7 separate regions of the Homo sapiens genome follow, and regions 1, 2, 3, 4, 5 and 6 are each linked to region 7. The links are contacts of gene promoters, found by promoter capture Hi-C in blood cells and fetal thymus (Javierre and others, 2016). All regions are on one chromosome and are shown on one strand. The core of a region is centred on a gene start or on the middle of the fragment in contact, and the rest is flanking DNA. Distances in the headings are between cores, read along the strand shown. Region 1 has its middle 4.4 kb from the start of LINC02322. Region 2 has its middle 43 kb from the start of SALRNA1. Region 3 overlaps SIX1 (SIX homeobox 1). Region 4 has its middle 59 kb from the start of SIX6. Region 5 has its middle 39 kb from the start of LINC02322. Region 6 has its middle 10 kb from the start of SALRNA1. Region 7 holds the start of TMEM30B (transmembrane protein 30B).

Region 1 (2,967 bases), core at 181-2,680, 950 kb after region 7:
CATAGAAGGCTCTTAAACATTTGTTAAATGAATGAATGAACCTCAACCTTTCTCACCTTCAGTGAAAAGCACTGCAAGGTGATTGAGGAGAAAATAAGGAAGCCTTAGTCCCTGACATTTGTTGAGAAAGGGGTCGAGGAGATGATGAGGGGTGGGGAGAGGAGGCTTTTCCCATGGAACTCTCCAACACTGCTGCAGAAAGCCAAGCACATGACATGCACCACACGACCCCTAGGTGGTGGTCCTTGCAGCCGATTTCAGAGACCATAGCCCCAAAAGTGCAGAGGGTTCCTCTGTTCCCTCTCCTTGGACAGTTCCCATTAGTCTGTCTGGCCTTACCTTTCTAAAGAAATTTGCCGCTTGAAAATCACAGTGATGTACGTTATTGAGTCCCCAGAACTCTCAATCCCCTCTGTTTTTGCCCATCCCAAGCCCAAACTGGCAAGCTCTCTTTCTGCCCGATCTTCCAGGAAGCTTCCCCAACTGCCACAGTCCTGTCCAATTTCACTGAATTTTATTATTTTCAATAGACATATTTTTTAAATGTCTCTCTAAAAGCGACTTAAGATTATTATGTAAGATTTTTATAAGATTATTAACTTTGTAAGATTTTGCCCATCTGAATCAATCTCCAAATCATAGAAAAAATGTTATTGACCTGATAATCGTGTTTCAATCCGGGGTTTGGAAAAGATGTTCACCACATGGAAATCATGGCTAAGACCCATTTCGCACAAAATGCACACTCAGGCATGGTTCAGTATCACGGTGCAGTGTGTGCGTGTCGGGTACCTCACCAGCCACACTTCGGCTTTGTAAAGGTGGGTTGGGGAGCCGAGTCCTCCCATCCTTTCACAGCCCCCGCAGGCCCTGGGTGAATGCTGGTCTAGTGAATTCACAGCTCCCGGGCAACTCCCAGCCGCGAGGCGGGGCGGCAGGGTGGAGGGAGCCACCCGCGGAGAGGCCTCGACCCCCACCCCAGCGAAGCCTAGGGCCGGGGAGCTGCACCTCGGCGCACCCCGCCTGGCGCCCTGAGCCCGCGTGGGCCCGGGCCGGGTTTGCGGGGAGGCAGCTCGGCTCCCGGAGGTCCTCCCGCAGGCGGCGCCCTCCGAGCCAGGCGCGAAGTGCACCCAGGCCCCGCAGCCCAGCGCCGCGTGGCCATCCAGAGGGATTTGTCAGCGCGCCCTATATAGCCGCAGACAGCTGCCATCTGTTATGTTTAGTAACACCACCACGCCGCTCCCCCTTCCTTGAGAATAAACCCGCCTTGGTCATTAAGCCACGAGGATATTTTTTTAACGACTCCCACTCCCTCTTGCAAGCAGTCTTAGCTCATCAGTCCGGGTCTGAGTCTTGAGCGCCCAATTCTGCTTCCTCACTGCGTCCTGGGCGCTCTCTGAGCTGGACGAGCCATCCACTGTGGGCTTGGGCCCCGGGCAGGTGCTTACAGGAAAAGGCGGAGACAGCGCCTCCCTCCATGGGTGCAGCGAGGAGAAAAATCCGTGGTGTGTGACCATTTTAATGCATCGCATTTCAGTTCTGCAAATGCAAAGTGTAAATTAGGCTAGAACATGATTGTGAATCAGACCAGACGTCATGATTAATTTATCACTGTGCTCCAGATACATCAGCTAAAATAATATGAATTTAAAGTAACGGTTCCTCCCGCCTTTGTGTTTGCTGGTGAACTCTAAAGAATAGATCACTAGAGAAATAAAGGAACTTAAGAGTCCACTCTATTCTCGTATTAGCGGAGCATGAACATAATTAAACATTCTCAATAAGGTTTCTTCCACCGTTTGAAATTAAATTTGCCCACCCACATTTTGTATCCGTCTGTGTAACACTCACTGATGCACCCTGAGCTGCTGATAAACATTGAGGCGGAGATTAGCTTTTTCATATTTCAGGTAACATTTATGATGCCTCAAGTTCTGGTTCCCAAACTGGCTGATTATCAAAATTGTCTAGGGCCTTGCCACTAAAAGTGTGGTCCATGAAGTAGCGGCACGGTATCACTTTTGAGATCGTTAGGAATGCAGAATCTCAGGCCCTACTCAGACCTGTTGATGGGAGTCTAAATTTTTTACAAGACCTGCCCTCACCACATCACCACCCCCATTAAAGTTTGAGAAGAATTGATGTAGTTTTTTAAAAACCACAAATACCTTTGCTCAGACATCTATATATGTTTAGTAAGCAGCCGAGTTGATTCTTATAAGTTGAGTTGTCAAGTTTGGAGGTCACTGGTCTTTGAGGCTCAAGGTTCAGATGACTTTTATGCTGATGACATGAACCAAATTTATTAAATCAGTGGAACTCTCTCTGAAAGTTTGGTACAGGTGAGTTTATCTGTTTAGTCATCCATGAATTACAAGAAAGCTTATTAATTATTTAGTTAAATAATGACACATTTAGTCCTCCAATTAGGAAAGCTCAACACTAGGAAGGAGGATTTTCTCCTTATGTAACTGGCTCATTCACTCCCAGACTGAGTGTAGGCATGAGGAAATCTTTTGCTTGGCCATCAAAGCCGCCCCCACCCCCTTCGAATGTTCTGACTTTCTTTATAACAGTACCTTTCATTCAGAAGAATACAAACATCCCTTGTGCTGCTGTTCAGTGATGTTGAGGGCTGTACTGGAGGACTGTGTCTAGTTCTGGACCTCACAATAAAAGAGGGATGTGGGGACCTTGGCAAAGGTTCAGAAGATATTTGTAAAGGTTATTTTTTAAATTCAGAATGAATCTTCACATTGTGTGGCATTATCTATAAAATGGACATGAAATGAACTTTGACTGTAGCTTGAGATTTTTACTTTAAGAGAAAAGCAATTGTAGAAATAAGTGGAGGAAGAAGAAAGAATGTCTCTTGAGCACAAGTTCTCACCTTGTGCATTAGTTACAATGACCTGGAGAAATTTTTTAAAACCCCAATGCCAGTTAAGTTGGGGGAGTCTTTGTGGT
Region 2 (3,138 bases), core at 561-3,060, 690 kb after region 7:
TTGGGATGGAGACTGACTTGGGCAAACTGTAGAAAGCAGGATTCTGACCTAGCAGTGAGAAAAAGCAAAAAATACCTTAATTTGTACCTGAAAGTTCCCCAAAAACGCCAGGATGAAAGGAGATCATTTGCTCTGAGAGAGCAGGTAAAGATGAGGCTTGAAAACAGGGGGACTGGTTGCAAATTTGTTTAAGAATCAGATCCTAATTCTAACCACAAGGAAACAATCAGACAAATACAAATTTAGAGACATTTTGCACATATTCACCCATTTAAATTGTATAATTGGTTTTTGGTATGTTCTTCATATGTGCAACCTACACCAGACAAATTTAGAACATATTCATCACAGGCTTAAGCTCCTAAAAAGTGTCATTGTCATGTGAATAAAAAAAGGTGGAGAAACAGTTTAGATGAAAGGAAATGAGATTAACAAGGCCTAATAACTAAATGCAATGCATGATCTTTGACTGGGTCCCGGATTAAAAAAGAAACAGCTAGAAAGGGCACTATTTGGGCAACTGGGGAAATGTGATTATGGTGCGTACATTAAATAATACTGATTTCTTGGGTTTGATATTTATATTATGGTTTTGTGTGAAGATTGTCCTTGTTTTAGAAGATACTTGCTGAAATATTTAGAGAAGTGACAAACTTATTCTGAAGTGGTTCAGCAAAACAATCTATATATTTCCCTTTCTCAAGAATCTACTGTAGATTGTGTGCCCAAAAGGGGAGGGGAGTAAAGCAAGAAAGAGGAAGACATGGAATCTGGGAATCAGGGGATCCAACGGGAGTGAGAGGGAAGGGAACCCCAAGATGATGGTGACGGGAGGTCCTGAGGTGACAGATGTACAGCAGGCCCAGAAAGTAATCAGCCCAGTCCAGAGGCTCTCAGGAAGATTACTTCAAGGAGAAAAATATTAGTAAAATAGATTACACATTTGAATGTATGGAGAAAAGGTTTACATAAGAGAGGAGTTTATAGTTGAATTCGTGATACATACCTTAAAATCCAAGCAAACGAAAAGCAAGACACATTAACTCCAGGCAGAACATAAAGTTATGGAGGAAAGGAAAAGCAACAGTGTACCACATGGCTTAGTACTCAATAGTCTTTCCATAGTCATAAGATATGGAATATTTATCTATGCAAAATTACAAGGTATTTTTATTAGAAAGATGGTGGAAGAAGAAATCTCTGTGTGTGTGTGTGTGTGTGTGTGTGTGTGTGTGTATAATAGAGCGCTGCAAAAGGAGAGCCTCTATATTATACCTACAAAAGAATAATCACAATAGCAATATAAACATGATATTTAGTAATAAGGAGGTAAATTCCACAAACATTGGAAAAAAGTGTTAAGAGAAATTTGTAGTGAATGGAAAATGGAAGTGGGAAAGAGGGCTCCTGTTAGTTGAAATAAACCTTGTAAAACTGCATGACTTATTTATGCATATTATGCATATGCATATTTAACTTTGAAAAAAAATTGAAAACAAAAGAGCATGTGTTATGCAGTATGGCTTCATGGAAAGAGCCCTGGTTTAGGGACAGGTGATCTGAGGTCTAATCTTGATTCTACCAAAGCTTTGATATCTATGTGACCCTGAGCAAGTCATTTGCATTCTTGGAAGTATATGTCCTTATTTGATAAAGTGGACTTAATAATGTTTAAGGACCTTTCCAGCTCCAAATTAAATAATATGATAAAGTACTTATCGAACATAAATATTTGATTGAAGAATTAAATATTTTACTAATGATAATTTGTTTCTATCAGGCTTACATTTAATGCATCTATATTTTAAAAACTGTTTTTATTAAGGTTTATTTTAATATGTTAGTACAAATATCTTCAAATGAAGTAGATTGCTATGGACTGAATTGTGCCCGTCCCCCCAGCGTGCTGTCCCCACAATGTGATGATATTTGAAGATGGGGCTTTTGAGAGGTAGTTAGGTGTAGATGAGTTCACGGTGGTAGAGCCCCCATCATGGGATTAGTATCCTTACAAGAAGAGAGATCAAAGCTTACTCTACCCACATACACGCAACGAAGAGGTTATGTGAGCACACAGCAAGATGGTGGTTGCCTCTTTTCAGAGGCCAGGCGTGGTGGCTCCAGCCTGTAATTCCAGCACTTTGGGAGGCTGAGGCGGGTGGATCACCTGAGGTCAGGAGTTTGAGACCAGCCTGACCAACGTGGTGAACCCTTGTTTCTACTAAAAATGCAAAAATTAGCTGGGCATGGTGGCAGGTGCCTGTAATCACAGCTGCTTGGGAGGCTGAGGCATGAGAATCACTTGAACCTGGGAGGCGGAGGTTGCAGTGAACAAATATCATGCCACTGCACTCCAGCCTGGGTGACAGAGCGAGACTCCATCTCAGAAAAAAAAAAAAAAAAATTATTGAATCTTAAAGAAACATTTTTAAAAAATTATTTTGTAACTTAAAAGTCATCCAATTTTTTAAAAGGTGAGAACATAAGTGTATTCAATGTCCTTTCCTCATAGAATCTTGACCCATTTACAATGTTTCTATTAAACAATTCTAAATATAATTTTTGAGGAATCAATTCAAATACTTTCCTTTGAGGATTTTTCTACATGATACTAATAAAGGTGTGGTTTTTTTGTTTGTTTTAAGAACAATAAGCAGACCTTTATTAAGCTGAGAAATAAAAATGAATGTCATTGGATTACTTAGATTTTGCTGTATGTATTTTTAGTCATTGTACAACATTTTTCATTTTTTTCCTGTCAAGATGTTGTGTTTTATAGGATTTTAAGAAAATAAAACATTCTTAAAATGAAGACCATAAATCAGTAAGTGGAGGCAGAACTCACTTATATAATAGCAGTAGGTTTGAAAGAAGTCTGAAATTATACATATGAATAAAAATGCAGAGTTGGAAGTACTCCTGTAAATACAAAACACTTAGAAAGAAGGAAGTGGGAAGAGAACGACTGCATAAACACTTACATGGATTATTTATGGGTATGATTGCTTTAAAGTGTGGATTGGCCATAACTTAAAAATTTAACTCTCCAATCTAAGACATTTGCTGAACTGAAAATCAGATGACAGTAGGCCTAGACGGTAGGTAGACTGAACTACCCTAGAGGGCATGCAGCTAGGA
Region 3 (3,170 bases), core at 147-2,646, 640 kb after region 7:
CACTGGGCCGCGCTGGGCACCACTTCCCATGACCTGTTCTGTGTCTGCAAAACCACCAACTCTGGGCTGGGGCAGGAAAACGGGATGTTTAATTGTCTCCTCATATGCGAACAAGGCAATGGACTTGATTCACCCCAAACATTTGTGCATTGGACTCTGTCCTCTATCATTTCTTTATCACCAATATCTATTTATTGAAAGATTTTCAGTTACATTTAAATATGTTGCTAGTTTATATGTATTTAAATGTAACTGCTTGAACAAAATTTAAAACATATATTTTGTATGTTTCAAATAAATCCTGCTAATCTATCACTTTCTGAAATCTGGAAGAGAAAAGGACCTGGCTCCTAACAGGAGGCTCTGTCCGTAGCTCTCCATTTCTCCAGGTTCCTCTGACTCCTCACCTCCCCCATTACCCTTGGGGATGGGTGGAAGGGTAGAGCTCCTCCATTTGGGTTGGTGACAGATTGCACAATGGCCCTTTCCTCCTTCCAGCTCCCCTCCCTCCATCTCACACTTTTTTTTTAACCTACTTTTTTTTTTTTTTTTTTTTTTTAACCATATGGTGTTGTCCTCTATTTCTTAGGGAGAACACCGAAAACAATAACTCCTCCTCCAACAAGCAGAACCAACTCTCTCCTCTGGAAGGGGGCAAGCCGCTCATGTCCAGCTCAGAAGAGGAATTCTCACCTCCCCAAAGTCCAGACCAGAACTCGGTCCTTCTGCTGCAGGGCAATATGGGCCACGCCAGGAGCTCAAACTATTCTCTCCCGGGCTTAACAGCCTCGCAGCCCAGTCACGGCCTGCAGACCCACCAGCATCAGCTCCAAGACTCTCTGCTCGGCCCCCTCACCTCCAGTCTGGTGGACTTGGGGTCCTAAGTGGGGAGGGACTGGGGCCTCGAAGGGATTCCTGGAGCAGCAACCACTGCAGCGACTAGGGACACTTGTAAATAGAAATCAGGAACATTTTTGCAGCTTGTTTCTGGAGTTGTTTGCGCATAAAGGAATGGTGGACTTTCACAAATATCTTTTTAAAAATCAAAACCAACAGCGATCTCAAGCTTAATCTCCTCTTCTCTCCAACTCTTTCCACTTTTGCATTTTCCTTCCCAATGCAGAGATCAGGGAAAAAAAAAAAAAAAAACCCAAACAAACAAAAGCACCCAGGCACCCAGTCTGAGTTCTGGGCAACTGATACGCCTGTTTCAGCAGCCTTTCTTTTTTTTCAATGAATGGGAATTGCAAATCAACTGGATTTTCATTATTTCCTTTTAATTTATATATGGAGAAATGTGAAGAGGGAAAGGAAATGGAAAGAGAAAGAGAAAGGGAGATAAAAATAGTGAAAATAAGAGCCTCCAGGCTCAGAAGAACTGATTACATTCTTAAGGTGAACAGGAAAAATACAATCTATAACTTTCTTTGATGAGGAAAAATTAAGTTTACATTTTTCATATTTAGTGTTAAACAATTTAATGTAGATTAAAATAAAAGACCAGTATTAGGAGGAAAAAACAAGTGCCTAAATGTCTTAATGCTCTCTATGTGAGACAGAAATAGACGTGACCATTAGTAATGCAACTATTTTTGTCAAATTTAGTGGGATTTTTTGGTTGTTGTTTGTTTTCTTGGGTTTTTTTTTTTTAAATGACAAACTCTAAAAATGTACCAATGTGAAAAAACACTTTCCTGAATGCCATTACTCATGCCCTCAAAGCTTTCATATCTGTAGCCTACTCCTGTAAAGGGTTTCTCCTGTTTCTAGTTTCTAGTTTGCAAAGGTATGCCAACGAATCTGGCAACCTGGTATTTGTTACTAAAACAGCATGTGTTTTCAGGTTTCTTTTCTATTGTACCTAAAGCAGTCTAAATTAAAACTTAGTAGAACACCAGGAGTATGATTCTGTTTCTGAAAGGTGAGTGGTGTATTGCTGTCATTGGGCCCTATTTTTTTTTTTAAATATATTTTTCTTTCTTACTTAATGGTGGCTGTGAATTGCAGGGTACTTTGAAGGCCATCATCTGAACCAAGAGTAGTAACTAGATTAATTATATGACAGAAAGAGTGAATTTAGCCTTGGGGTATTTATTAACTTCTATTATTTAGATATGCAATTTTGTTTACCACTATCTCTTCACAGCATTCATATGTTAACTAAGCTCTTTTGTGTTAACAAGTTTATGACAAGACTGTGAAAGTAAAAATAATTTATCTGCTTGAAGACAAAAAAGGGAAGGAGAACAAGGATAGAAACATTGTGAATTAATTTGTACAAATAGAAAGCAGACCAGCAGGACAGGAGCTCTTTTGCAGTGCTGCCGGATGGTGTCTAGAAAAATCCCAGTAATCATGTAGGCTCCATATTATTTTTGCCTGGGGCAAAATGATGTATCTTCTGTATTTAGCTTTTAAAATTAGTGAAACAAATGGCATTATTTATTAAAATTCTACTCAGGATAACAGGATTGGCTTGCTTGTGCTTTGTAAAATATTGTTCCCCAGGGAGAATCTATTTATTTTCTGACATGACAGTTTCATAATTTTGATTTTTTCCCATCTATAATTGTCACCATTAATATATTATTTCTTTCTTACTCTTTCCTATTTCTGTTCTGGTCTAGAAAACTGAGGTGTGCTTGGGGAAATCAAGGCCTTATTTTTTAAAACTGTCAAATAGCTTTGAGTTCCAGGGAGAAATGGTCACTGTACTTAACTGTACACACTTTTACTTATAAAGTCGTTTTTCCCCCTCAGTGATGGACAGATGTGCACACAGCCACTCAGAGACCATCATTTGGTTTGGGAGCTCAGGGTCCCAATCTCCCTTGTTAGTGTTTTGGATCATTAAGTCGGTGTTTATTTAAGTCACTAGGGTGTTTATTCTCCCTGTCTTGGGCCACGGAGAAATGCCACCCTCTGCAGGAGGGGCTCTCACAGGGAATCTCCTCACATTCTTCACATTCACTCCCCAAAACAAACACCCTGCACAAAGATAGCTTTCAATGACCCTGACAGGCTTCAAAGGACGCTGCGGAAATCTCTCTGGAAAATAGGAAGGGCCAATTACTTTAATTTCTTACATGCCGTCTCTTCCTACTCCGGTGACTACCCTCCACTCTCCCAGCTCCGCCTGGGATAATTTTAGGCTCGTGGAAGTTGTGTCT
Region 4 (2,912 bases), core at 175-2,674, 710 kb after region 7:
TACAGGGTTTTGCCATGCTGCCCAGGCTGGTCTCAAACTCCTGAACTCAAGTGATCCTCCTAACTTGGCCTCCCAAAGTGTTGGGATTACCAGCGTGCGCTGCTGCACCTGATCTGGTGTGTCTTAAATGGCAACAATCCTGCAGAATTGCAAGACAATGGGGTCTTTGACCTGGTAGTTGATGCTGTAGAGGCCTGTAGAGTAGAGATGCTGGAGGAGGCCTTCTGCTCTCTGCCATCCCTGTACCTTGCTAGCTTAGAAGTCAGGGAAGACATAGGCCTACCATTTGCTCTCTCCTGGCTTTTGTGGGACAGGGTGACAAGCGTACTCACACATGGAGTCAAGGTGGATCATCAGTAGGAGCCATAGTTTGCCAAATGCCAAGCTGTCTCCAGTATTCACTGCCTTTGGTTCTCACCTCTGAGTTTAGTTTACAGGGAAGGAAACCTCACATCAGGTCATTCTACTGTGACCCTGTATAGCTACAGCCTCATCTATAACCAGTTGCCTGAAGGTCCTTAGCAGCCCCATGACTCAAGAGAGGCAGATAGCTTGTGGGAATGAACTAGAAGGAGCTGCCTTCAGGATGCCTTTTTCTGGGATCCAGATTAGATAAGCGTTTGTCTAGTTACCTCATTTATTTATTTCATTCACTGCTAAGCTTCTCAAAAAATAAATTGTACCTGTTTTCTCCCTTTCCCATCTCATGTTTGCTTTAGAATCCACCGCAATGAAACATTAGTTCTACCACTTTCCTGAAACTGCTCTGACAAAGGCAACCATTGACCTCCTAATCACCAAATCCACTGGAATCTTCATGTTTCTCAGGTCTTTCTTGATCTCTCAGGTGCATTTAATTTACCCTTGCTGACCACTCCTACTCTGCTTGTGACTCTTTCTTTGGCTCCCATGACAATATTGTCTTCTAATTTTTCTCTCATCTCTCTGATCCTTCTTAGCCTTCCCTTCTGGTTTTTACATCTCTCCTATCCTCTTAATTTTGGCATCTTCCATAGTTTTGTTCTGTTCTTTTCTTGCCGTCTTTGCCTTGCAGTGTACTTTGCCACCTTTATATGAATGATTCCCAAGTTCAGATCTCTAACCCAAATCTCCCTTCCAAACTCCTGATCCATTTATGCAGTTGCCAACAGGACATTTCCACCTGGACAATCCATAGGCATTCTGAACACAACATTCCAAAACGGAAAGTAATCTTTCTCAGTAGTGTTGTATAGTTCAGAGGTTAGCAAACTGAGGCCCATAGGTCAAATCTGGCCTTCTGCCTGTTTTCTGTAAGGCTTGCAAACTAAAAATGGTTTCCACATTTTTAAATGGCTGGAAAAATCAAAAGAATGATAATATTTCATGACACATGAAAATTGTATAAAAATTAAATTCATCATTTATTAGGAAAGTTTCATTGTAACACAGTCCCACTCTGTTTTTGTTATTGTTTATCTTTGGTTATAGCTTTCTTGCAATGGCAGAGGGGAGTAGTTGAAACAGAGATTGTATGGTCTGCAAAGCCTAAAATATTTACTATGCAGTCCTTTACAGAAAAAGTTTGCTGACCCCTGGTGTAGCCAAATGGACCTAGCTTGAAATCTTGGCTCTGCCATTTATTCTCCATGTAACTTGCGCAAATTACTCCTGTCAATTTCGGTTTCCTCATCTGTAAAATGAGAGAGAATAATTATATTTACCGCTCAAAGTTTTTTGTAGATTAAAAGAGATCAGCTGGGCTTGGTGGCTCACGCCTGTAATCCCAGCACTCTGGGATGCCGAGGTGGGTGGATCACGAGGCCAGGAGATCAAGACCATCCTGGCTAACACGGTGAAACCCTGTCTCTACTAAAAATACAAAAAATTAGCCAAGTGTGGTGGCACGTGCCTGTAGTCCCAGCTAGTTGTACTTGAGAGGCTGAGGCAGGAAAATTGCTTGAACCCGGGAGGCGGAGGTTGCAGTGAGCTGACATCTCGTCACTGTACTCCAGCCCGGGCGACAGTGCGAGACTCTGTCTCAAATAAAATAAAATAAAATAAAAATTAAAAAAACATGCATGTAAGACATTTGGCATACTTTGGCATAGTAGTGCCTAATGCAAATTGCCCCATGAGTGTTAACTATTGTTACTTCTCCTCAAACTTACTCTTCCTCCTGTTTTTTCTATCTTTGTGAAAGCTTCATGGTCCACTGGTCACCCAAGCTAGAAACTCAGGAGTCATTATAAACTTTACATTCTGTTGTTGATTTTACCTCCACAAAATCTAACATGTCCATTTTTTTTCCTTTACATTCACTAATACTGCCTTAGCTCACACCTAATCTTCTCTTGCCTGAACTCTCTCCTAACTTGTCACCCTGACTCAGATATTGTCCTCATTTCTCTCTTTTCCACACTACTACTTGAGTAGGTATTCTAAAGTGAAAATCTGATTGTGTTACTCCCCACCTTAAAACCATGCAAGCACTCTCCATTATCTGCAGGATAAAGCCTGAACTTCTTTCACCATCCTGCGTGGTCACTTCTCTGCTCAGCTGTAAATTTCACTTCACCCCACCTTGGATCCCATGTACCTGCCTTTTTATGGCTTGACATTTCCAAGGCAACCTAAGATGTCCTTCCTCATCCTGTCAACCCAGGCAACATCTACTTCACTTTTAACATTCAACTCAAGCATTACTGCCACTATGAAGTAAGTCTTTAACTCTCCCTATTTTTGTGCAGAGTTGAGTACTGTCCCCTGCTTTTTTTTAGGGACAGGGTCTCACTTTGTCACCCAGGCTGGAGAGCAGCAGTGCAATCATAGCTCACTGTAGCCTCAAACGCCTGGGCTGAAGTGATTCTCCTGCCTCAGCATCCTGAGTAGCTAGGACTACAGGTACCACTATGCCCAGCTAATTTTATTTT
Region 5 (3,036 bases), core at 328-2,827, 920 kb after region 7:
GAAGCTGAAAGAGGGTAACTGAGTTGCTCAAACTGTTCATTCAAGGCAAGCATTGAGCTGGAATAAAAACACTTTCTTGCTGTGCCTCACGATTAAGACCTTTTTCCTAAAGATAATAGCAGTCCTTGATTACTACTGGGTACCTTTTTTTGATGGTTTTACTGACCAGTAAGGAATCTGATATAATTACTATGACATGAAACCATATATAATATGTTAAATCATTATAAGAGCAGAAGCATCTAAGAAATATTTCTCCAAACTCTTCTTTAGCTTTTTGAAAAAGATTAATTGGCTTGCTTATATTAAAGTCACAATTTTTTAAGGGGCTTAAATGCAGTGATGAAAACTGTTCTTCAAGGCAGTTTCCAAATTTTACCTGTTTTGTGGCATTTTTCGGGATCAACCTAGTCAGTAATAATGGCTTTCACTCAGAGGCAGATTGACAGTAAAACTACTGAAGTGTTCTTTGACTCTCTTCTGATGTATTCACTGAGTTATGCTTTTGTAAAATTTGCAAGAATAAGATATTTTAACTGTAATCAGTTAAAGCCAGTTGTGTGAGATGATATTCGAATGGCCAATGGCACTTTTGAGATCCAAATGAGGGACTGGTGAGTTGAGGGCACATTTTGAGTTTAACAGGGTATGTTTAGGTGGCTTGCAGTTGCTTCAGTGTCTATCTAAGGAACCCCAGAATGATGTCAGAATGGCTTTCAGTGTATTCCTTTGGCCCATTGTGCCTGCTCAGCCAGCACATGACAGGAAGGTATGAGGCCAGAGTCCAGACCACCCTATGAAGGTGTCCTATGGTGCTGTGACAGACAGCTCCCACACAGTTCCCAAGGATGCTGCCTCCTGTGTAATCTTCCCTGTGTAATCCCCTCCCTGTGAGTGTGGGTGGGGCCTAGGAACTCCTTCCAACTGAATAGTGATAGAATATCACTTCTGTAAGTAGATTACAGAAGAGATTGTGGCTTTGTTTTGCTAGCATGTTCCCTCTTGCTTGTGCACTCTGATGAAGCCCGCTGCCATGTTGTGAGATGCTCCATGGAGAGGCCCATGTAGAAAGAAATGATTTCTATAGTAATTATGTGAAATAGAATTTATCAGATTCCCTTGTTTGTAGTCACAAACCTATAGGAAATCAACAAACACCAAGTGCATCTTTTACAGCTAATATATGAAAGAAACTTGATGGGGGTTTCCAGAATTTTCCTCAAAAAATACAGGGGGCAATATATTATAGAGGCATGTCAGAAAATTAAGCACAATTGTGATGTTTATGGTATATGTGAACTTTCTAAAGTTTGTAATTTCTTGTTATTTATTTTCTCAACCTAAATAAATATTCGTTTTCTTACCTAAAAAAAGTCTAAAAAATTTGGCACTCTAATAAGGAATTTTATTATTCAATATAGTATGTTCAAAAGGGAATTATCACTTTTTAAGTTGTTTTCAATGTTTGGGGAAGAAATATTATTAAAACAATACATTTATTTTCTAAAGAGGCTGATTAGTCTGTTTTCACACTGCTGATAAAGACATACCTGAGACTGGGTAATTTATAAAGGAAAGAGGTTTAATTGACTCACAGTTCCACATGGCTGGGGAGGCCTCACAATCATGGCAGAAAGCAAAGGGGAAGCAAGACACATCTTACATGGCAGCAGGCAAGAGAGAATGAGAGCAAAGCAAAAGTGGAAACCCCTTATAAAATCATCAGATCTGGTGAGATTTATTCACTACCACAAGAAGAGTATGTGGGAAACTGCCCCCATGATTCAGTTATCTCCCACCAGGTCCCTCCCACAACATGTGGGAATTCGGGGAGCTACAATTCAAGATGAGATTTGGGTGGGGACACAGCCAAACCGTATCAGAGGCCCAGGAAAAAAATATGACTGGAGAAGCTGCTTTCTATATAGAAAGAGACCTCATATCTCAGCCTTTAACATGCCTGGCACATAGAAGATTCTCAATAAATATTTCTGAGGAAAGGAAGGAAAGAATGAAAGAACTGTACAGTGTCTACCTAGGATCACAATCTGTCTTATATCGCAATAGATGCCTCATTATTACTACACTTTATCCAAAACACTTAACACAGCACTCTGAGGAGTAAACAAAAAAATTAAAGGTAAAATGTATAATTTTATTTGGATCTAATGATCAGCATGCAAGGTTTTCTGAGAGTTCGAAGTGTAATACTTTTTGAAAAGTTAATGTCTCTTAGCTATATAATAGCTATAAAATCACACAAACATAAGAAAAATAAGCATAATTATTTCTTTTTAAAATAACTTTCTAAAAGAAACATATTTGGCAAGGGCTATTAAACTTTTGATTTGATTAGATGCCAGCATTATGTACTGAAGGCAGTAAAACAAATAGGCATATTCTATTTGTTATAAAGCTGTGTGAGGTCCCTTAATGCTGCATATATTCTTTTAAGTTGCACCACTTGCTTAGTACAGTTTGCTCAATGATAAACATAATTTTCAAATGTGTTTATTATTATATGAATTTTCACCAAGATCTTAGTGACTAAAGTTTATATGATGAGATAAATCTAAGTATCAGATATATTCTATTTTAAAAGGAAGACCATTATAAAACATCTTCCCTGTTGATTGCATTTTTCTGTATCTAAATAACCTTTGCTTATTAGATATAGAATTATATTAAAGTAATAAGGTTAACAAGACACACATAAAATATGGAGAAAAATGCAAACTAAAAACCTTTATCCTAACAAATATTCATAAATTTCTGAAAACAACTGCAAATAATTATTGCACAAAAATGATTAATAAGTAGTGTTGTCAGGTTTTTAACAAATGAAAAGGGGATATTCATATTCCTATTAGTGCATAGCTCTCATTATGCATACCTATGTCAATTAGCAAAACTTATTAACTAAAGGGCATATGTTTAGCAATAAATGAAAAACAGACTCCCTTTTTGCTGCAAAATCAAAGATAATCAGCCACCAAATATCAAAGTTTATTAATGAGCTTTATTTGATGCTAATTT
Region 6 (3,339 bases), core at 823-3,322, 650 kb after region 7:
CGTCCAGGTAGCCTTGGAGACAAATTGTCCCTGAGAAATGGGAAGTACAATTACCTAGAAAAGCATCATGGTAACATCACATATTTTATAACAAAGGTGTAGGCTGGTTTCATTAAGTTGTATCTAATATATACGTCATTCATGTTTGGGGGAGATAAGTATTTTTATTATAAAAAATTTAGAAAAATGATCTTTGTCTTTAAACTGTGACTCTTTACCTTTGCTAGCATTTTTTTTAATTAAAAAAAAATCCAAACAAAAATACTGCCAGATTACCCCAGGAAGGTGTTAACCATAGTAAATGTTCATAAGGTAATGAGAGCAAGATTTTTATCTAACTACATTCAGTGAATTTATTGGTGTTTAACTCTGTATTAAACCCAGAAAAACAAATCTAATATAAACAGTGTCTTTTTGGAATAATTGTAGTTGTATTGGTTAACAAGTATAAGCATGTGTATAAACTATGGTTACACTTTTTAAACTAGATTCTTCCAAATGCCTAAGGCTGTGCCTATAGAAAACTGGCATCACATTCCCATAAAACAACAACTACTTCAAATGCAGTGAAACTGGCCATTTGCAGTACAGAAAGCATAATGTTTATTGGACTGACTGCTCCAATTTTATAAACAGTTTGTAAATCTAGATTAGGCAGGCAGCTTCAGTCAACCTTTTCCCTCACCCCTTAGTAAATTACAGGTCTGTTAAGGTACACAAAAGCTTTCAGGCCATCAGGGTTCTATTTCTATCTTTTTATGTTTTAAAATTTCTTTCTATATTTTTAGTAGAATCATATCTTAGAGATCTGCTAAAGAGTACACCAGCTGCCTGAATGCCTTACTGTATTCAGCATGTTGGCAAAGATAATTTATTAAGAGTGTAACTTGTACATAATAAATAACATCCTTTATTGCAGTTGTCTAACCTGTGGTTTGTCATCTTCTTGTTAAGAGTTCAGGGTGGCTAGAAAAAAAAACATTTAAGGTTCTAGATAACCCATCAGAACAGGCTGAGTTTACTGCATTGTGGTTGCCTTTTAAGGTTCTTGGCAGAAGTTCACTGCCACCTTTGATGCCCACTCAAAACACCTCAGTATTTATCCTTTAAAAAACATTTTCTGGTGTTATTTCCAGAAGCAGTAATTATGCTCTCAATAAACCCCTTCTAGTCTTGTTCAGAAAGGGTTTAGAGGGGCAAGTATCATTTCGAGTTTAGCACATTAGTTAAACCTCAAGGGGTCTAGGACTTGGGCTAAAATCTGGAAAATATCTCATGGATTTTCAAATTGTCCATACTTTAGATAGGATCAGCTTGTGATGATTTAGAGACTTTGTCTTGGTCAACTTCAGAAGGTAGCATTATCATTCCTTTTTCTTTCTTCCTCCCCTCAACAAGAAAACCTTGACTCTGATGATTTATAAAGAACCTAGACATGTAGTTTTCTTTTCTGAATATTGAATAAATGTCTCTGGAGTGTTCTCAGGTTGCCAGATGTCATCCTGATATTAGAGGCTGACTGTCCTTTGTTTAAAGTTCCCAGGTAAGAGATTTCTAGTAAGACCTGATCCATATGGAGCACCTGAGGAGAGTCTGATCGGTTTTATATTTTTCCAAACTTTTGTTCTTGGACATTCCCCTACTCCTGTTTATTACTGAACCTAATTTCCCTTTGTGTTCTTTATTTTCTCGTCCATAATTCTGTCTAAGTTTTAAGGCATAGATGGCATCTGAGGGAAGATAAATAGAGGAAGAAGATGGGTATCTATCATATGAGAGGGTGCACTTTATTTATCTTTGTATGACCAGTGCCCAGCTCAGTGCCAAATACCTAGATGGTGCTTCATGGATGCTTTTTGAATAGATGAAAGAATGATGTTCAGGAGTATAAGGGACAGTGAGTGATAGGAACATTTCTCCTATTAATGTATTTAAAGGGTAGGCCTAATGCCTAGCAAATAGTAGGTGTTTGAGAAATGATAGCTTAAAACACAGACACACAGAGAAATCTTGGGGGTCAGAAACCTAAAACAATGTAATTTAAATCAATTTACTTTATCCTGATAAATAAGGAATGGGGTTTCATTGAACTATTTTAATATACTGATCCAAAACAATTTCACATATGAATTCCAAGGCAGCTAGAAGAATGGCAAATGCGTGAAATTAACTTGGTGGGTGAACTAGAACCATATCAAGAAATATTTCAAAAATCACACCAATCTTACTAAGGCCACTATTCAGAGAACTTGTCCCTTAATGCCATGGTTCAGCATCACCATTCACTGTGATTTATATGCCTGAACTACATAGTTCACTCAAAGTCATATTGCTGGTACTGTATCAGCCAGGATAAAGACTTGGTTCTGCATTCTATGGTGTGGTCATCTTGGCTCAATATTGGGTGTTTCTGGCTTGCACCAGTCATGTTTCTTCATTAACTTCTAGTTCCTTACCCTCCTCCCTTGAGAAGGATATAGTTTTATGACCATCAAGATATCATATTTTGGTCAGATAGATAAAAGGTCATCTTGACCTGCAAGATGAGTGGGAGGAGACATTTGCTTCGTATGTGTGTTTGGGTCTGGAAGGAGAAATTTTAAAGAGATGGGCTTCTATTGCTGGATGACCATTCTTGTATGTTCTCTCCATAAAAGTGTTAATATGAAATAACACTTTCATATTTCTAGAAGTGTTATTTTATTCTCAGAATTACCCTGGATTTGTCATTTAGAGGCATCATCTCCTACTGGCTAAGCACCCAAGTTTTGGTGTCAGATAGACCTGAGTTCAAATTCCAACTTTGTCACATACTGTCTGTGTGACCCTGAGCAAATAACCTCTATACTACTACTAATAATAAATAGTAGCAGTTGGCTGGGCGTGGTGGCTCACACCTGTAATCCCAGCACTTTGGGAGGCCAAGGCAGGCAGATCACATGAGGTCAGAAGTTCAAGACCAGCCTGGCCATCATGATGAAACCTGGTCTCTACTAAAAATACAAAAATTAACCGGGTGTGGTGGCGTGCACCTGTAATTCTAGCTACTTGGGAGGCTGAGGCATGAGAATCGCTTGATCCTGGGAGGCGGAGATTGCAGTGAACGGAGATCGTGCTATTGCACTCCAACCTGGGTGATGGAGTGAGACTCTGTCTCAAAATAAATAAATAAATAGTAGCAGTAATCCTTGGGTAGTTGTAATAGTAATCACACATTCAAGAGTTACACTTATCATGCTAAGTGCTTTGTAAGGACTTTTTTTTTTTTTTTTTAATGGGACAGAGTCTCTCTCTGTTGCCCAGGCTGGAGTGCAGTGGTGTGATCTCGGCTCACTGCAA
Region 7 (3,022 bases), core at 308-2,807:
TGGATCACACTGTGGGAACTTGCTGAGAATTTTGGAACTTCCTCTCTTTGGGTATGATAAGAAGTGAGGGAATTGAAATTCAAGTCACTTGAATTTCCCTCAGTCTTCTATAATACCTGGTTTCCAACTTGCATTCATTTAACAAACTGGAATCAATGTTCCATTATTAAATCAATATTACTTTTTAATTTTAATGTGACTTGTAGAATGCAATTTGATACTTGATTACACCCTATGATTCATAGCTATTATTGGCTATTTTGATTGTTTCTTACTCCTAATATGTCCCCTATCAAACTGCAAATGCCTTGAGGTCAAAGGTCCTTTTTTGTCTAATTAGCATAGGACTGAACACTTGGAAGATGCTAACAACATTCCTCTGTTAAATTTAATAAGGATTTTAACTTTCCAAGTTCAATGGGTTTTGAATGACTCCTGAATATAATATATTATGCTAGGTGTAGTGTAATAGAGAAAACATTTGTATTACTTGCATTTTACAAGCTGGAGGAGAAGCAAGAACACAATACCTAGGGAAGATTTAGATTTAGTAAGAAATCAGAACGTCCCAATACCCCCTTGTATATGTTTTACCAACCTAGATTTAAAAAAAAAAAAAAAAAAGCCAGAATCCCAGGCAACATAGGGAGCTAATTTGAGTTCTTTTTATAATAAATCCTATAAATCCTTGTAGTTTACTTCCTTAGGCCAGACACTCCAGATGTTTTTGTGGATAGCAGCTAGGTCTCCTGGGACCTTGGATTGGGCCTTTCTCTAGTCAGGCAAATAATCTGAAAAGAAAACGAAATCACATGTAGTCCAGCACATTTTTTCCTTTCTTGGTTTCTCCACACCAGCTAAGAGTTATTTAAAGGCTCTGAACCTCTCCAGCCTTTGATTCTTTTTAAGGATGATTTTATTTTTAGAGAACTTTCCACATTTCCTAGTTATACAGCCAGACTGGGTGATCTGGCCAGAAAATCATTTTCCCTTAAAAAAAAAAAAAAAAAAAAAAAAAAAAAAAGCTAAAATTTGAACGCAGGCGTTGAATTCGAAACAGATTTATCATAACGTAATTCCCTGGACACTCCCAACTTGAGACTGAAAGCTGGGCGAAAGCGGTTTGTGAAGCTAACCTAAAAGACAAAATGGTCTAGAGCCACCTTTTCCCCGCAAATAACAGAGGATTAAGGATCTGAAATCTTCAAGCCTCCAGGACCACGGTGCAAGCCCTCAGCAAAAATTTCTGCTGGAGGCCGGAGCGCCTTTTGATTTCGGGAGACTGGCCCAGGAACTCTAGTCACTTGGAAGGCGGAAGAGAAGGTGGTACCTGAGCCAGGTAGGAGCCACTCAGAGGCAGCCCGGGGCCGCCACTCACCTAGGAGAGGAGGTGGAGTCCGATGACCTGGACTGAGAGGAAACGCGAGACTGAGTCTACCAGGTGAGGTAAAAAACACCCACCTGCTCACCTCGGAAGGGGCGGGCGAGGTGCGGCTCCCGGTGACCCGCGGGGGTGCAGCGCACCTGGGCGGAGGCGGAACTGGGAGGGTGTGGGCACTGCTCGTAGGGCCTGGAACTAAACTCACCTGTGACGGAGGCAGAGGAGGGGCCCGGGCAAAAACCCACCTGAGCTGGCGGGAAACCCGACCCGCGAGCAGTCCCCGGGCTTGCGCGGCGCGGAGAGGGAGGCGCCCCGCGGCGGGGCCCCCACTCGGTCAGCCCGCGCGTCGGTCCCCGCGCGGCCGCCATGACCTGGAGCGCCACGGCCCGGGGCGCCCACCAGCCCGACAACACCGCCTTCACTCAGCAGCGCCTCCCCGCCTGGCAGCCGCTGCTGTCGGCCAGCATCGCGCTGCCGCTCTTCTTCTGCGCGGGCCTGGCCTTCATCGGCCTGGGCCTGGGCCTCTACTACTCCTCCAACGGCATCAAGGAGCTGGAGTACGACTATACAGGCGACCCGGGCACCGGTAACTGCTCGGTGTGCGCCGCGGCTGGCCAGGGCCGGGCGCTGCCGCCCCCCTGCTCGTGCGCCTGGTACTTCTCGCTGCCCGAGCTCTTCCAGGGCCCAGTGTACCTCTACTACGAGCTGACCAACTTCTACCAGAACAACCGGCGCTACGGCGTGTCCCGCGACGACGCGCAGCTGAGCGGACTCCCCAGCGCGCTGCGCCACCCTGTCAACGAGTGCGCCCCCTACCAGCGCAGCGCGGCCGGCCTGCCCATCGCGCCCTGCGGCGCCATCGCCAACAGCCTCTTCAACGACTCCTTCTCGCTTTGGCACCAGCGCCAGCCCGGCGGGCCCTACGTCGAGGTGCCGCTCGACCGCTCCGGCATCGCCTGGTGGACCGACTACCACGTCAAGTTCCGCAACCCGCCGCTGGTCAACGGCAGCCTGGCGTTGGCCTTCCAGGGCACGGCGCCCCCGCCCAACTGGCGCCGGCCAGTCTACGAGCTCAGCCCCGACCCCAACAACACCGGCTTCATCAATCAGGACTTCGTGGTGTGGATGCGCACGGCGGCGCTGCCCACGTTCCGCAAACTGTACGCGCGCATCCGCCAGGGCAACTACTCGGCCGGGCTGCCGCGGGGCGCCTACCGCGTCAACATCACCTACAACTACCCGGTGCGCGCGTTCGGCGGCCACAAGCTCCTCATCTTCAGCAGCATCTCGTGGATGGGTGGCAAGAACCCCTTCCTGGGCATCGCCTACCTGGTCGTCGGCTCCCTCTGCATCCTCACCGGCTTTGTCATGCTGGTCGTCTACATTCGCTACCAGGACCAGGACGACGACGACGAGGAGTGATTCCGGCTTTCCAGGGATCCCTCCTGCTTCTTGCCAAAACTCTTGCAAGGTGCTTTTGGCATCTCCTCCTCGCCCGTCACCCAATTCCAACCTCGCCTAGCTTTTCCTCCCTTTGTGAATGAGGGGACCAGATAAGGGAATTACCCCCCTTGCTCTTGGGGGGCTGCTAGACTGTCTTGCCGCGGGGAGGGATGTTGACTGCAGAGTGAAACATCCTTG

What was found. Contacts are between HindIII fragments. The CHiCAGO score rates a contact against its expected background, and 5 or more counts as called.
Region 1: a contact is called between a fragment that was not itself captured here and the fragment with the promoter of TMEM30B in region 7, in 4 of 17 cell types (M2 macrophages, monocytes, M0 macrophages and 1 more). The highest score is 7.9, in M2 macrophages.
Region 2: a fragment that was not itself captured here is called in contact with the fragment with the promoter of TMEM30B in region 7 in 1 of 17 cell types (endothelial precursors); the score reaches 5.3 in endothelial precursors.
Region 3: a fragment that was not itself captured here is called in contact with the fragment with the promoter of TMEM30B in region 7 in 2 of 17 cell types (M0 macrophages and M2 macrophages); the score reaches 8.4 in M0 macrophages.
Region 4: a fragment that was not itself captured here is called in contact with the fragment with the promoter of TMEM30B in region 7 in 1 of 17 cell types (M2 macrophages); the score reaches 7.1 in M2 macrophages.
Region 5: a fragment that was not itself captured here is called in contact with the fragment with the promoter of TMEM30B in region 7 in 1 of 17 cell types (M0 macrophages); the score reaches 6.5 in M0 macrophages.
Region 6: a fragment that was not itself captured here is called in contact with the fragment with the promoter of TMEM30B in region 7 in 5 of 17 cell types (M2 macrophages, M0 macrophages, erythroblasts and 2 more); the score reaches 11.8 in M2 macrophages.

The regions. Positions count from the first base shown.
Region 1 is chr14:60,326,088-60,329,054 of GRCh38, reverse strand. No RefSeq gene overlaps it. Among named protein-coding and RNA genes, the nearest start is that of LINC02322, 4.4 kb to the right of the region's middle. RefSeq lists a silencer at 827-1,136 and an enhancer at 1,247-1,306. The HindIII fragment of the contact is 1,908 bases long and covers 477-2,384 here.
Region 2 is chr14:60,594,680-60,597,817 of GRCh38, reverse strand. No RefSeq gene overlaps it. Among named protein-coding and RNA genes, the nearest start is that of SALRNA1, 43 kb to the left of the region's middle. The HindIII fragment of the contact is 442 bases long and covers 1,590-2,031 here.
Region 3 is chr14:60,643,997-60,647,166 of GRCh38, reverse strand. It overlaps SIX1 (SIX homeobox 1), which reads left to right. Exons shown (of 2, transcript NM_005982.4): 2 at 590-3,170. The coding sequence ends at 884. Among named protein-coding and RNA genes, the nearest start is that of MIR9718, 3.1 kb to the left of the region's middle. RefSeq lists enhancers at 1-271, 2,701-3,170. The HindIII fragment of the contact is 656 bases long and covers 1,069-1,724 here.
Region 4 is chr14:60,566,433-60,569,344 of GRCh38, reverse strand. No RefSeq gene overlaps it. Among named protein-coding and RNA genes, the nearest start is that of SIX6, 59 kb to the right of the region's middle. The HindIII fragment of the contact is 1,521 bases long and covers 664-2,184 here.
Region 5 is chr14:60,360,208-60,363,243 of GRCh38, reverse strand. No RefSeq gene overlaps it. Among named protein-coding and RNA genes, the nearest start is that of LINC02322, 39 kb to the right of the region's middle. The HindIII fragment of the contact is 3,188 bases long and covers 1-3,036 here.
Region 6 is chr14:60,627,582-60,630,920 of GRCh38, reverse strand. No RefSeq gene overlaps it. Among named protein-coding and RNA genes, the nearest start is that of SALRNA1, 10 kb to the left of the region's middle. The HindIII fragment of the contact is 2,693 bases long and covers 726-3,339 here.
Region 7 is chr14:61,279,873-61,282,894 of GRCh38, reverse strand. TMEM30B (transmembrane protein 30B) reads left to right here and starts at 1,557. Exons shown (of 1, transcript NM_001017970.3): 1 at 1,557-3,022. The coding sequence starts at 1,748. The coding sequence ends at 2,803. It also overlaps a transcript of PRKCH not described here. RefSeq lists an enhancer at 2,132-3,022. The HindIII fragment of the contact is 12,699 bases long and covers 1-3,022 here.